Linked DNA regions of Homo sapiens: region 2 is linked to region 1. Evidence: promoter capture Hi-C in 16 types of primary human blood cells and fetal thymus (Javierre and others, 2016). All regions are on one chromosome and are shown on one strand. Each heading gives the region's core, a stretch centred on a gene start or on the middle of the fragment in contact. The rest is flanking DNA. Distances are from core to core; before and after follow the strand shown. Region 1 holds the start of CYSLTR1 (cysteinyl leukotriene receptor 1). Region 2 has its middle 20 kb from the start of PBDC1.

Region 1 (6,732 bases), core at 300-2,799:
AGACATTCCATTCCCAGGGAGGAGCAGGAGACAGAAGCCTTCCTCTTATCTCAACTGCAAAGAGACCTCCCTCTTTCACTACTCCTCCTCAGCAGAGACCCTTTACGGGTGTTGTGCTGGGGTATGGTATCAAAGCAGAAACAATTTTTCCTGGTACAGATCAAAATGGAATTTCTTGTGTCTTCCTTTTCTACATAGACACAGTAACAATCTGATCTCTCTTATCCCCACAAAGGATCTAGCTCCTTTCTCTTTTCTTCATTTCCTGAGTATGAATTGCCCTTCCACTGTAGCTCAAAATGGCTGTAACATTTCAGACTGGAGGAAAAGTGATAATTCACTCTGTGTCTCACTTATAAATTTTCCTGTAGATATTTGGGGATCCAAACTCAGTTGAAGAAATACTAGTTTGAATGTCAGTTTAGTTACTAAAACTCCCTAGGAGAGGATTAGAAAGTCTAGTCTTGAATCCAAATGTTAACATCCCTTCAAATGTGGTTGGATAGCCTTTTCCTCCAACTATCACCATCACCACCACAATCCAGAACTCTGTGAAAAGAGATAAAGATTCAAGGGCCTTAAAGCGATTGTCCCAGGTTGGTTGTGAGGTAATTCTTGTACCTAAAGATACAAAATTTGAGTAAATGACTTTGTTCCTACAGCAGGTAGCAAGCCAGAAGGCTACTGCTGGGCTCATATTTTACAAGTACCTAAAACTAGTTGTTAGTTATGGGGCATGTTTACAAAGTGTTAACATCAACATATTTATGCCCATCTCCATATAGAATCTTCTTAATATAACTCAAGATAATTGATGTAACAAATTCACATCATGATCTTACCAATTTGGTTTTTAACATCAAAGTGCTGCCCCAGGCTTCAATCAGCACATACCAGACTGCTATGTCCCTTTTCTCCAGAAGCCATATTGAGCACCCCACAGCTCTAACACCTCAGAGCCTAGCCAAAGGCCAAGAACACTTGCCTGATCCCCCAAATTTCCAACACAGGACCATTGACAGCAAGCCCAGTCATTCCAGATCATCTTCAGTGGGACAAAAAAAGAAAACAACAGTTTTAATCCAATGGAGGCAATTTATTGTTATGAAGATTTCAGGAAACAAAGCTCAAAAAGGAACCAGAAAGGAAAAGGCTTTTTAGAATGTGGATAGAGCCACAAGTGTCATTAAGGAGAGAGAGAGAGAAACGGAGAGATGAAATTTATGTTACTTAAGATCAAGTTTCACATAATGCCAGTTATATTAGCATATACTGGCAGGATTATCTTTCCCCACCTACAAATAGTCTAATGACCTCACAGTCACAGAAATCACAGAGAACTAAGCTGAAGAGAGAACACTCGTCCCTGCTTCCCATCTTAGAGCAGCTGAATAATTTCCTGAGAATTCTATTCCTGAAGCTAGGAAGAAAAGTTTATTTATACATACACGCAACCTGCAAGTCTCCAGTTTCTATTCTTCCTTCCTCTTTGACCCTTCCCCTCCCCCACTTTGCACCAGAGAAGTCAGACTCCGGGAGTGCTTTAACAGTTTGAAGGCTAATCTGAAAGAGGAAGAAGAATCTGTATATCTGTATATATTGGCTAGCAAATGTGCCCTGCTCTCTCCCCTCTTAAAAATAGCAGCAACCCATCTTTGCAAAGAAGCTTGCCTATAGAGCAGGCACTCTGTGAATGGACTGTGCTTTTACGACCCTACAGGGTATCAAGATACTGTGCAGCTCGCCAACAAGGATTAATTGCAAGGACTGGTAGATCGAATTTACTGAAGACTTGGAGCTTGCTTCTGAGAACAAACGCAAAAGGACAGTAAACTGTGGACCTTGAAGTTAGCAGGTAAGGAGACTCAGTATTCAGTACTAAGACCAGAACAGTATGTAGTAAAATGTTGCTGATGGTAAATTTTAGCAAATTCCCAGGAGTTTGGGGATAAGTTATCTGCCTTGCCTGCTTTAAGTTTGGGTGCTAGTATGAATTCTTTCTGCTTTATTTCTTAGCCAGAAATCTGATAATATGATCAGTCTGTCAACAAATATTGCTCAGTGCTTCTGCTAGGGCTCAACGTGGCAAAATACAGAGGAGACACACTCCGCAAACCTCCTGTGCCTTTGTAATTTAAGCCAGAAATGTAAGATACATTTTCAAATCCCCATTTTGAGGGTTCAGTGGAGTTTCTCTAATGTAGTGACATTTTCCTTCAATATGGAAAATAAATATGTAGTAATTACTGAAGGTAAACCAGTGGAGAGTAAAATTTTCACAAGGTAGTTTCACATTTGTTATCCCACCTGAACCTTTCAACATCCTATAATTTAGACAAGGTAGGTGTTACTGTCCATGTTTATGAATGAGAAAATTGACTCAGAGAGGCTAAAAAATTTTCTTGAAACACACCGTACAACTAGAAAATGGCCAGTTCTGGCCAGAGACTGTAAAAATAAAGCTCTCTCAACTATAAATGAATAGAAGAAAATTGCATGATCTATTTAGTAACTCAGACACATCTGGTGTAGACTAAGTTTACACAGAGCCAAAGATTCATACATTTTAATAAAATCTTTAGCCAGGAACATTTTTCTACTTAGCGACAAAAAAGGCTGTTTTCAAGAGGAAACAAATGGGTTTGTAAGTTCCACCTACTGAATTCAGTGGTTCTGCTTTCCAGTATTCTGATTATTTTGAAACCTAGAGAGAAACTATGATACCATATGTCTAACAAATGATTATTTTAAAAGAAATTGTAACTAAATCTGGACTAGATTGTACACTGTTTTAAAAACAAAAATATTTATATTTTTACAATGCATTATAAAATACAAAGGACTGTATTACATTTAAAATACATTAGGAAAATTTGTTACAAGACAATTTTAACTTTATTACAGAAGTCTTAATCATTCAGAAATGTTTTCTGTTGTTGTTTTACTATTAATGGCTCAATTAGAACTAAAAGCTATCTGTTTTTACATCATAAACAACCTCAAGTGCTATATTTACATTCATCCATGATAAAAAAATTTTCCCCAGTTCCCCTAAGTATTGACTACACCAGCCAATCAGGGTTCCTCCAAATAAAATAAGTCAGTTTGGGAGCCAGTAAGCACACAGATAATGGTAGGTTAAGAAAAGTTTGCTATTTGCTTTTAGACTTAATCTAGCATGTTAGTGTATTCCTAATCAAGAATCATCAATTCTCATTTTCTACTACCTCCCCTTAATGAAATTTTGATGCATTTAGAAACTATTTATCTGTCATAAAAGCAAGACTCTTCCACAGTATAGAAAATTATAAATTTGTATTTTCAGTATAATTGACCAATAATAAAGGATAATAAAGGGAAGGTGCTGATTCTTAAGGTACATACCCAACCTTGTGAATTCAATACTATGAATGGTAACTATCATAATCTCCCAAATAACATTGCCCTGTATGGACCTCTACTTTGGTCCATTTTGTTATTCTCATGTTCCTAACACCTAACAGTGGCTGCTCTAAACTATCTTGCTGCATGGATTTCAATGGGAGAGAAACGGGGTAACTGGGATAACTGGGAGTTCACCCTTGTTTTGACATGTAAACAACTGGGTGTTCTCTGGCAAGTTAACAGCCATTAGTATTTCTTGGTTCCTTTGTGTATCTAATGCAGTAATGAGCTGATAGGAATATTTTCTAAATCTCTTAAAATGATAAATATAAAATCTGAAAGCGACTTGAAAATACAAACCACCATCAGAAGGATTTTGTTTAAATTCCATTCATTCCAGGTGGATAAACATATAACAAAACTGACTGCATGGGGAGACAGTAGGGCTAGCTACTTTCTACTCCCTAGACTATATTGCTAGGTCAGGGACATCACTCTAAGTCTCAGCAACCTCATCCTACTCTTAGGACCTGTCAGTAGCATCAAACACTCTGGATTATAGTTGTCACTAGCCCTACAATACTTATGCACACCTCAATGTGAACTCTAAAAGGAATAAAATATTTAAGAGTAGTATTTAAAAAGTATTTCTGTGAAAGCACTATCCACCTTTTGTTGTTACTACTTTAACCAAGCCCATTGATTCTTAGGATTATATGCTAAGGATTAAAATAGTTTTTTGCAGCAAGTTTTGAATGCAACACAATATCCCACTACTCTTTCATAAAACCACTTGTTCAATCACAGATTTGGTTATAATACAAATCACGTTTTTAAAATATATAAGTATGTCTAGTTGTGTGTGTGTGTGTGTGTGTGTCTAAAATAGAAAGACCTAAAGTCACTTTTATCTCTCACTCCAGTGTTATTTGCGTTTCAGGCCACATGAACATCTATGTGGTATGATTTAAGGGTCAGTGAGAAAAGCTTTCCCAGTTCAATCAGATATGAACAAACTGTTGAAAGATATATTTATATTAGTCAACCCTACAAAAGATAGATTAGTCAGTATGCCAATTTGTTGCTTTGCAGTGCAGAAATAAAACTGTTGGCTGGGTGTGGTGGCTCATGCCTGTAATCCCAGCACTTTGGGAGGCCGAGGTGGGCAGATCACAAGGTCAAGAGATTGAGACCATCCTGGCCAATATGGTGAAACCCCATCTCTACTAAAAATACAAAAATTAGCTGGGTGTCATGAGGCATGCCTGTAGTCCCAGCTACTCGAGAGGCTGAGGCAGGAGAATCGCTTGAACCCGGGTGGTGGAGGTCGCAGTGAGCCGAGATCGCGCCACTGCACTCAAGCCGGGCGACAAAGCGAGACTCCGTCTCAAAAAACAAACAAACAAACAAACAAAAAACTGCTAAGAAGTCTGATAGACTCATAGCAAGAAGTACATATCCTCATCCCTACAGAAAAGGCAATAAAGAAAGCCATTCCTTTATCTAATTTGATTAGATAAATCCAGACATCTTAGGTCCATTAATTCATGTTACAATCAAGGTGCTAAAACACCCTCAGATGGCAATTACTTTTGCCTTTAATTAAGATTTCTTTATGGATTAGTAGAAAAGGCCACTGTATAAATTCTTCTATCCTGCTGCTTCATTCTGTCTCATCCCACTCCATCTCATCATGACCTCTCCTTTCTCTGTGCCCCACAGTCCTTCTTCTAGATTGGGGTGGTGGGTTCATATGGAAGAAAAGAGAAAAAAATACTTTAAATTTGGGGGATAAGTTAGGAAGAGGTCCTTATAGAAATAGAGGAAAAGAGAGAGAAGAGTAAACATAAGCCCTTGGACATTTAACACATAGTTGATTTTCCTTTTGATGAATAAAATGTCATTATCTTGCTTAGAGTGCTTTCAGAATCAATACAACCCAGACATTTGAGCTCCTACATATGTGGAACTGATAGAAAAGAAACAGGAGTTCAGATCTAGACTTGAGGTCCTTGAGCTAAAGAAAAAATAGGAGACATTTGGGCATTCTTTTATTTTTCATCAATCCCTTTTCCCTAAAAGGGAAAGAAAAATCCAGTTTTGAATAGCATTTCAAGATGTCTAAAGTATATGACTTCTTAAGATTTCTCATAAATTTCAGATTAACAGTGTTTGTTTCTACAAAGGGTTGTCTTTGTGTTGTCATGGATTCACCAAGCTAAGTAGAATTGAGCTAATAATAACAACACTCAAACATCTCAGATGTGTCTTACATACTTATTCCAAAGTTCCTAGGAAATACTCAGGCCTCAGAAGGTAATAAGGCTTCTTTTCATTCCAAATTGGTTACCATTTGTGTTTGATCTGAATTTGAATTCTTACTTAAGACAAAGGGCCTTAAATAAAAAGCAATCTCCTAGAGAACAACTCTTTTGCAAGAGCCAGACATCTAAATGCCAAGATGATAGAAGCAGGCCTCAGAGTTAGCTGTAAGCAATGACCTCAGAACATCAGAGGATTCCAAGCTGCTGGTAATTAGGTAGAGAGTTATAGAGGTATTCCTGGAAAAAGGCCCTCTACTTAGTGCTTTACAAAAAGTTCAAAAGTATGTGTGTAGGTTGCAACACATTTCTATCACCCAAACTAGGGGTGAAAGTATCCTCCACTATACACTGTCACCCACACTCATGCACTCCTCAAGATCTCTATTGCCTTTTGTTAACTTTCATTTCCCTTAAGTTCTGGTCTTATGCATCCTTTTAATCTGATTACACAGGATAAAGCATTTTTGGCACAGTACAATGGAAGGGGACACACTGTCATTAGTTCTGAATGCCACAGTCCAAGGTCCTTTTTGGTTTGACAGTGTCATGTGCTTAGATTCCAACTGTCTGACAACAGAATGGCCTGAATTGATGGGTTTGACGTTCTCCTCTTAAGGAGAATAAGAGACTACAGAAGAAACACCTGAGAGCTGTCAGCAACGAAGTATCAGTTCCCCCATAGTTTTTAATACCAATGAGAATACATATCCTTGGAAATGTATTCCCAAAAAGCATATCCCTGTGAGCAGCACATCCCTGGAAATATGAAGTAAGAAAGCTACTTATTGTAATGATAGGGCTAAAGTGATCACAGACGGAAGGATCATTCTGCCCTCCTCCCCCAAATCTTTTACTACGATGGAAGAAAGTCACTGGGATCATTAGCATAGCCTGATGGTTTGTAGATTAAATCTCCATAGAGGATGAGTAGCTTTACTGTAGTCAATCAATAAACAATCACTCAATAAACATCAAATACACATTTTCCTATGTGCAAAGAGAGATATGATTGTGGGGTGGTGTG
Region 2 (7,850 bases), core at 3,840-6,339, 2.2 Mb after region 1:
TAATTCAGGGCTCTGGACCAAGGAATAACCAGACATCTCTAAGAATGGCTCCTTGGTGCTGGTGGCACAAGAGTAACCTTTGTTTTGACCACCGGCCCACCAGTTGCACTGACCAACTGCTTTCAGATGGAGTTATTTAGGCTGTGCCAAGTGACTTGCACTGTTTCTGAACTCATAAATATAACTTGCAGCCCTCACTGGATTCATATTTGATCCCATGGGAGCTGGGCAAAGGAGACACACCTGAGAAGGCAATGTAGTCCTCTCTTCAAAATCACCACTTTCCTCAAATAGCCACAGTGTTACGTAGTTGGCCAAGCTGAGCTTCCCGGATATTACTTCCTAAGGATGTCATTTTCTAGTACCCTTTTTAGTCCCCAAATCAAAGAGTTATCTGATAGAAAAGAAATAGTATCTCACCATGATTAAAATTTTTATTACCTGATTAACTTTGATATTAAGTATCTTTTTCTGTGAAAGATGGGTGGGCGAAAGAAAACAGGAAAGTCATTTATGATAGTAACCACACATACCCAACAATACCTGAAATGTAGCAAGTGACACCATTTAATATCATCATAGTAGCATGCATACAACATTATTTTACTCCCATAGAAAAGAGTCAATTGGGAAGTAAACTAAAGAACTAAGAGTCATTATACATTGGTTGTAGAATTATGGCAACTTTTTCATTTATTGTGAAAACCTTCCCCTACTTTCCAAGTTTTCTCAAGTAAGGATTTCAAGTGCATATGGTGGGTTAAATATAACAACAAAATCTGGAATGAAGGGCTGGCATTACTGGTGAGAAAAGATTGAGTAAGCTGGCTCCAGAAGCATTGCCTGAGGGCATTCACTGAGGTAAAAGGAAGCAAGGGAAGCTTTCTGGGCCTTAACACTGAAATGCAGATAATTATTTATGATCTTTAATCTATCTTTACCCCAAGGCCACCTGGTGCACCTGTACACTGATGAAATCCTATAATGTGTATACAAGAAGGCTGCATTTCTAAGGGGTTACTTGTTGGAAAATTTTTACTTGACAAGGGCGGTTTTCAAGTGGTTCTATAAATGAGCCCAATAGGCAGGATTTTTCTTTCCTTTTATTTTTTCTTTCTTTATTTTATTTTATTTTACATTAAGTTCTGGGATACCTGTGCAGAACATGCAGGTTTGTGATATGGTATACATGTGCCATGGTGGTTTGCTGCACCCATCAACCCCTTGTCTAGGTGTTAAGCCCCGCATGCATTAGGTATTTGTCCTAATGCTCTCCCTCCCCTTGTCCCCCACCCCCGACAGGCCCTGGTGCATGATATTCCACTCGCTGTGTCCATGTGTTCTCATTGTTCAACTCCCACTTATGAGTGAGAACATGCGGTGTTTGGTTTTCTGTTCCTGTGTTAGTTTGCTGAGAATGATGGCTTCCAGCTTCATCCATGTTCCTGCAAAGGACATGAACCCATTCTTTTTTATGGCTGCATAGTATTCCATAGCATGTATGTGCCACATTTTCTTTATCCAGTCTATCATTGATGGGCATTTGGGTTGGTTCCAAGTCTTTGCTATTGTGAACAGTGCCGCAATAAACAAACGTGTGCATGTGTCTTTATAGTAGAATGATTTATAATCCTTTGGGTGTATACTCAGTAATGGGATGCCTGTGTCAAATGGTATTTCTGGTTCTAGATCCTTGAGGAATTGCCACATTGTCTTCCACAATGGTTAAACTAATGTACACTCCCATCAACAGTGGAAAAGCGTTCCTATTTCTCCATAGCCTCACCAGCATGTGTTGCTTCTTGACTTTTTAATGATCGCCATTCTAAGTGGCGTGAGATAATATCTCATTGTGGTTTGATTTGCATTTCTCTAATGACCAGTGGTGATGAGCTTTTTTTCATATGTTCGTTGGCTGCATAAATGTCTTCTTTTGAGAAGTGTCTGTTCATATCCTTTTCCCACTTTTTGATGGAGTTGTTTTTTTCTTTTAAATTTGTTTAAGTTCCTTGTAGATTCTGGATATTAGACCTTTGTCAGATGGATAGATTGCAGAAATTTTCTCCCATTGTGTAGGTTGCCTGTGCACTCTGATGGCAGTTTCTTTTGCTGTGCAGAAGTTGTTTAGTTTAATTATATTCCATTTGTCAATTTTGGCTTTTGTTGCAATTGCTTTTGGCATTTTAGTCATAAAGTATTTGCCCTTGCCTGTGTCCTGAATGGTATTGCCTAGGTATGTTTCTAGGGTTTTTATGGTTTTAACTTTTACCTTTAAGGGTTTAATCCATCTTGAGTTAATTTTTGTGTAAGGTATAAGGAAGGGGTCCAGTTTCTGTTTTCTGCATATGGCTAGCCAGTTTTCCTAGATTTTTGTTCTAAACGCTTTTTATTCCTTTTTATTTTTATTTATTAAATAGGGAATTGTTTCCTCATAGCTTGTTTTTGTCAGGTTTGTCGAAGATCAGATAGTTGTAGACGTGTGGTGTCAATAGGCTGGATTTTTCAAGATAGTGATGTCTTAGAAATGTCACAATGCCCCTGAAAATATAGCCATTGGTATATTTAATACTCCATTTCTAAAACCCAGATTAGGTTGCTGGAGATATTACAAATAGGGAGTAAACAGTCAAAACAGGTTAGTCAGGAGAAAGGGACTGTGAATGTGACCGGGGTAAGGTATCTGAGCTACCACCAGCAGCGAATCCAGACACGGGTCTGCAGCAACCTTAATTCTTGCCTTCTCAGAAGAAAGAATTCCACTGAGAGGCAGAAGGCAGAAAAAGAGACCGAGGCAAGTTTCAGAGCAGGAGTGGAAATTTATTTAAAAAGCGTTTAGAACATAAAAGAAAGTACACTTGGAAGAGGCCCAAGCGGGCATATGAAGCTCAAGTGTGGTGTTTAACCTTGATCCTGGAACTTCATAGACTGGCTCATTTCCCATGATTCTTCCCATGGGTACTGTGCTGCCCCATGCACAGTACCCTCCTTACCCTTGGGAGGTGAGCATGCACAGTGGGTTTAGGAAGTTGTATGGATTCCCGCCTGAGGCTTTCTTCACTTTTCTGGTGAAGTGTCAATAGGAAGGTCATACTCCGTCATTTTGTGTCTTAATTCACATGCTTGAGCTCACTCCCACAATGCTTGAGCTCAGTCCCACAATACTTGATTTTATTGGAAGCTCTTTTTGTTTCTACCTGGCATTCAGTTAACCACGTTAATGTTAACAGCTGTAGATCAGCAGGAGATTATCTCTCCCTGACTCCAGGTGCCAAAGTACCATTTTTAGACAGGCAATGTGATAATTGTTGAACCATCACCCGATCACGTGACATTCCCGGTGGGTGTTGGGGAAAAGGACTCTCCTGCCCCTCTCATGTGTGTCTAACTACATGTAACATGAAAGTGTGTTGGAATCAGATGCAAAGAGAAAAGCAGAGATGAATGGCTACCGGTAGGTAGTTTAACACATTTTTTTTTCCAGCAGGCAATATAAATATGCTAAGATGAAAGGCACTTGTCATCACCAATCTAATGGGCTCAACTGGGACAAGTGATTGCATTTTTCTTCTCAAATGGTGGGCTACATAACAAGAATTTAGCATTAGACAGGTATGCCAGTGTTGCTGCTAGTGGAAAGTGCACCAATATACATGCTACTCCAGGATAAGGTTGGCAGATATGCTTTGGTCAAACACTGGCATGCACAAGGGACGAACAAACAAACGTAGACAGCCGTCATATCTTGCCATCAAGAACAAGATTTAAGAAAAGACCTGTGGCCGTGGTCATGTATGATGTAGCTCAATCACCCCAGAAACAGAAGATGTTATTAAAAGTATAAGCTGATTCCAGTTTGGCTCTGGCAGAGTGAGGGCAGAAGAGAGGACAACATGTTGGAGGGGAAGCCAGAGAGTTAACCAGAGATTAAATCCTGTTGGCTCTTACCGGACAAGGACTGGGCTTTTACTCTGAGTGAGATCAGAAGCCATTGCTGGGCTGGGACCGGAGGAGATACACAGCTCACAAAACACATCAATACAGAGAATTCAAACTTCTGAAAAACATATTGGATGAAGAAATGAAGTCCAAATTAAAATGAGGAAGTCCAGTCAGATGACGAACTTGAACACAAAGAGCAAGCCATTGAGCACTAGTTGGCCACAGATGTGGATTTAAGTTTTCTAGCTGCCAAAATGTAAAGAGGGAAACACGATCCTCTGCAGGACTCAACAGTATCCCTGAGATCGAATCTGACAAACTGCTCAGAAGGGGCACCTATGCTTTTCCCTGAGATGAATGTCTCCCATCGTCAGATGTCAGATTCTGGATCTATTTTGACAAGAGAGCTCAAAGGATTTCTTCACAGATGGAAATGAGGGGTGAGTAAAACAGTGGCGTGAAGGATCACCCTCAAGTCTATAGCATGAACAATTGGAAGGATAAGAGTGGCCTTAACTGTGAGGGGTGGGGCGAGGGGGGACGCTGCAGTGGGAGGAGGTTTCTAGGGGAAGATGGGAGAGTTCGATTTTTGACTTGTTAATTTGGGTTGACTCTCAGGCAATTTTCTCAGCGAATTAGAAAGGAAGGTCAGAGGCTGAATGTGAGGAGTCGGGAGGCAGTGTTGGAGGCTTGCAGAGAGAAAATAAGTTGTGAAATAGAAGGGTGAACGGAGACGAAGGCTTGAGAGAAATGAGTAGTTGGAAGATTTGGACTACAAACCTGGCAGAAAGATGTTTTGGTTTAAATGGATAGGGACCCTGGGTGTTTCCAGATCAGACAATGTTCATTCTTTATGATCCAGCCAGAAAACTGTGGCTTTTGCTAGCCTTTCCCACCTCTGAACACAGGTTTCCCCTTGCTGGTGAGGGTGGCGTGGAGAGATCCGAGTGAGGAAATAAGTTGTCAGTGTTTACGCTTATTTCTTCAGTCATGCTGAAGAGGCGGATAGGCCTAATACATAATAGGATAGAACACAATCCACCCGGACTTCCGCCTTATGCACAACTGCACTTTCAGTTTTGCTCAGAGAGATAGAGCTCACACAATTAGGTAATTGGGCCCAAATCTGAAAGTGAGAAACAGGCCAGAAAGGACACTCAGAGGATGAAAAGGGAAACCAGTAAGCCCCACTGTTTTATACACCGTTGTCATCATGGTTTTAACTTCATGCTGAGACATAGAATTCCTTAAACTATCACAGCCCTGGTCACTTGTGCCAATTCTACAAGGCCTCCAAAACCGCATAGGAGATACTGCACCGTGGGCCCATTCCAAACACTTATTCAGAATTAAAATTCCACTGGCTTTCCATTGATAGCACTAGAGGTCTGTCTGTGACACGCTGCTCCATTACAGCAAAGCAAAGCCCCATAATGACCTAATCCAGAAGGATAAGATCCCAGGACCCATAGAACAAGGAGGCCAGAGGGAAGGCAGGCCACAAAGAAGAAGGAAACCAGACTTCCCCATCCCTCTGGGCTCCTGGGGGGGTCAGTGGAAAAAGGCCTTTAACCTAAGTGCTCAAGGCCCTAACCTAACAGCTTTTGTTTTTCACGCTGGAGCGCTGGCACTTCCTGACCCCGCTTAGTCCTTCTATTAGAATTTTGTACTCTGATGCTAGTTTTCAGAGTATAGGAGCAACTGCAGGGAATGAAGCAGCAGACCTATCAATATTTTGTGGTGATCTAAGTCTCTGTTAATAAGCCTGAGACAAGGCAAAACCAGGAAGAAGCCTTGACCCTTATCAAGGTCATCAAAGCCATACAGGACCCTTCCTAATGTCTTCAACTGTCATTTTTGAAAGAAGCCGAGTCTGACCACCAAGTATAAATGGGTATAACATCCACCGCATTTCTTTGTCATATTGTTACAGGAAAGGGGTCTTGATCCAGACCCCAAGAGAGGGTTCTTGGATCTCGCGCAAGAAATAATTCAGGGCGAGTTCACAGTGCAAAGCAAAAGCAAGTTTATTGAGAAAGCACAGTGGTGAAAGGGCAGCTACTCCATAGACAGAGTAGGACGTTCCCAAAAGTAAGAGGAGGAATGCGTCCACCCTAGGTACAATGCTTGTTATATGAGGAGATGTGCTCTGCTACAAGGGTTTGTGATAGAGGATTAATTTTCTTAATTACTATGTTTTGCAAGAATCAGTGTTGTTATCTTTAAGGCAAAATTAGGAATGCCTTTCTTCTCCAGATATCGGAATATCTGGACACTCCCAAGTCTGGGTCTGTTTAGTAAACGTTATTAATTTGTTCCCTTAACCGTAAACATCTAGAGGCTGGGAATACCTAACTTTCTGGGAATGCAGCCCAGCAAGCCTCAGCTTCATTTTCCTAGCCCTCACTCGGAATGGAGTCGCTCTGGTTCAAACGCCTCTGACAATATCACCCCGTTTTATTTTCTATCACTTACCACTATCTGAAATTAAGTAGATAATTTGTTTACTCTCTGTCCCCACCCACTAGAATGAGAACGCGGCCCTTGCATCCTTACGTGTGTCTGGCATATAAGGGGTGCTCAATGATTATTTGTTTCATGGATGAACAGATTTATGGATGGCTGGGTGGATGACGATCTTAGAAGGGGTTCCAGGGCTAGCTGGCTTTCTGTTTCTCCCACTCAAGCACCCAAGCCCTGACCCACAAAGTAAAGGAACAGGCGAAACTTCTCGCCAAATAGCTTCAAGGCAGAAACTACGCAGCTGGCTTGGGAATTCCGTACAACGCGAACGCGCATGCACAGGCAGGACTGAGCGTGTCCATCTTCGCATTACTCCCGGAGATGACTCTCGGAAACGGTCCGAGGACTAACGTCTTTCTCTTCCTCGCCCTCATTCCTCCCAGTAACGTCCGCTACAAAAGAAACCGTGCACAAAATAAACTCGGGCGGCGGGTAGAAAGGAGACAGCCGAATTCCCTACACCCATGATCAACACGCCCACACCTCCCATCAGGCACGGCGCTCCCGCCTCCCCGAAGAGGCGGTGGAACGTGGTGGTGGGGGGGGTGCTGGGGGAGGGCTGGCGGGGGGAGGGCCGGGGGAAGGAGCGGGGCGGGAACGTCCTTCTGCTACTGCTATGGCTTCCGGGGCAGCACTTCGGCAGACCGCCCGCCTCCCAGTTGCAAATCGACTTCCGGGGCACCCCCACCGGCTGCCCGGTGGGTTCTCTGCTCGAACTTCTGGCGCTTTTCCCTTCCCGTTTATCTTGTTCAGGTCCCTCAGTGGACTGCTCCAGATCTAAAGAGCAGAAATTGGGCCGCAAAGAGAACGTCCTCCCAGACTTTCTCCGTCGCGGTGAAATTATGCCCGTTTGGTGGCAGTATGTATTCACAGATGCGTGCAGCTCTGCTCTTACCCCGCCCTTCGCGTTTAGAAAAAAAGCGCCGTTCCTCAGAGTCAAAACAAAGTTTCTTTCCGCTGTAGAGGCACAGCTTTTAGGGTGGCCTACTAACTCCCGCTTTTTCTTTTCTGAAATCTCTGTGCCAATCTGATGGACAGAAGAGCGACAAAAAATATTTTTAACGTGAGATTCTTTGTTGACTAGCCTGCTTGTAAACTTTCTGACATATGCCTTTTTTTTTTTTTTTTTTTCCATAGGGCTGTGAACCCCTGATATCTGAGAGGTGTCTCAGTCAATTTAGAAAGTTTATTTTGCCAACGTTAAGGACCCGCCCATGACAGCCTCAGGAGGTCCTGACGACACGTGCCCAAGGTGGTCAGGGCACAGCCTGCTTCCATACATTTTAGTGAGACATGAAACATCAATCATTTTATGTAAGATGTAAAGTGGTTCGGTCGGGGAAGGATCTTGTGCTGTGAGAGGATTTGACCTTGGCGTGTGTAATGGT

Evidence for each region. Contacts are between HindIII fragments. The CHiCAGO score rates a contact against its expected background, and 5 or more counts as called.
Region 2: a contact is called between a fragment that was not itself captured here and the fragment with the promoter of CYSLTR1 in region 1, in 1 of 17 cell types (M0 macrophages). The highest score is 6.2, in M0 macrophages.

The regions. Positions count from the first base shown.
Region 1 is chrX:78,322,428-78,329,159 of GRCh38, reverse strand. It overlaps CYSLTR1 (cysteinyl leukotriene receptor 1), which reads left to right and starts at 1,549. Exons shown (of 3, transcript NM_006639.4): 1 at 1,549-1,855. RefSeq lists enhancers at 1,328-1,377, 6,096-6,185. The HindIII fragment of the contact is 10,496 bases long and covers 1-1,668 here.
Region 2 is chrX:76,148,899-76,156,748 of GRCh38, reverse strand. No RefSeq gene overlaps it. Among named protein-coding and RNA genes, the nearest start is that of PBDC1, 20 kb to the left of the region's middle. RefSeq lists an enhancer at 7,768-7,850. The HindIII fragment of the contact is 8,412 bases long and covers 884-7,850 here.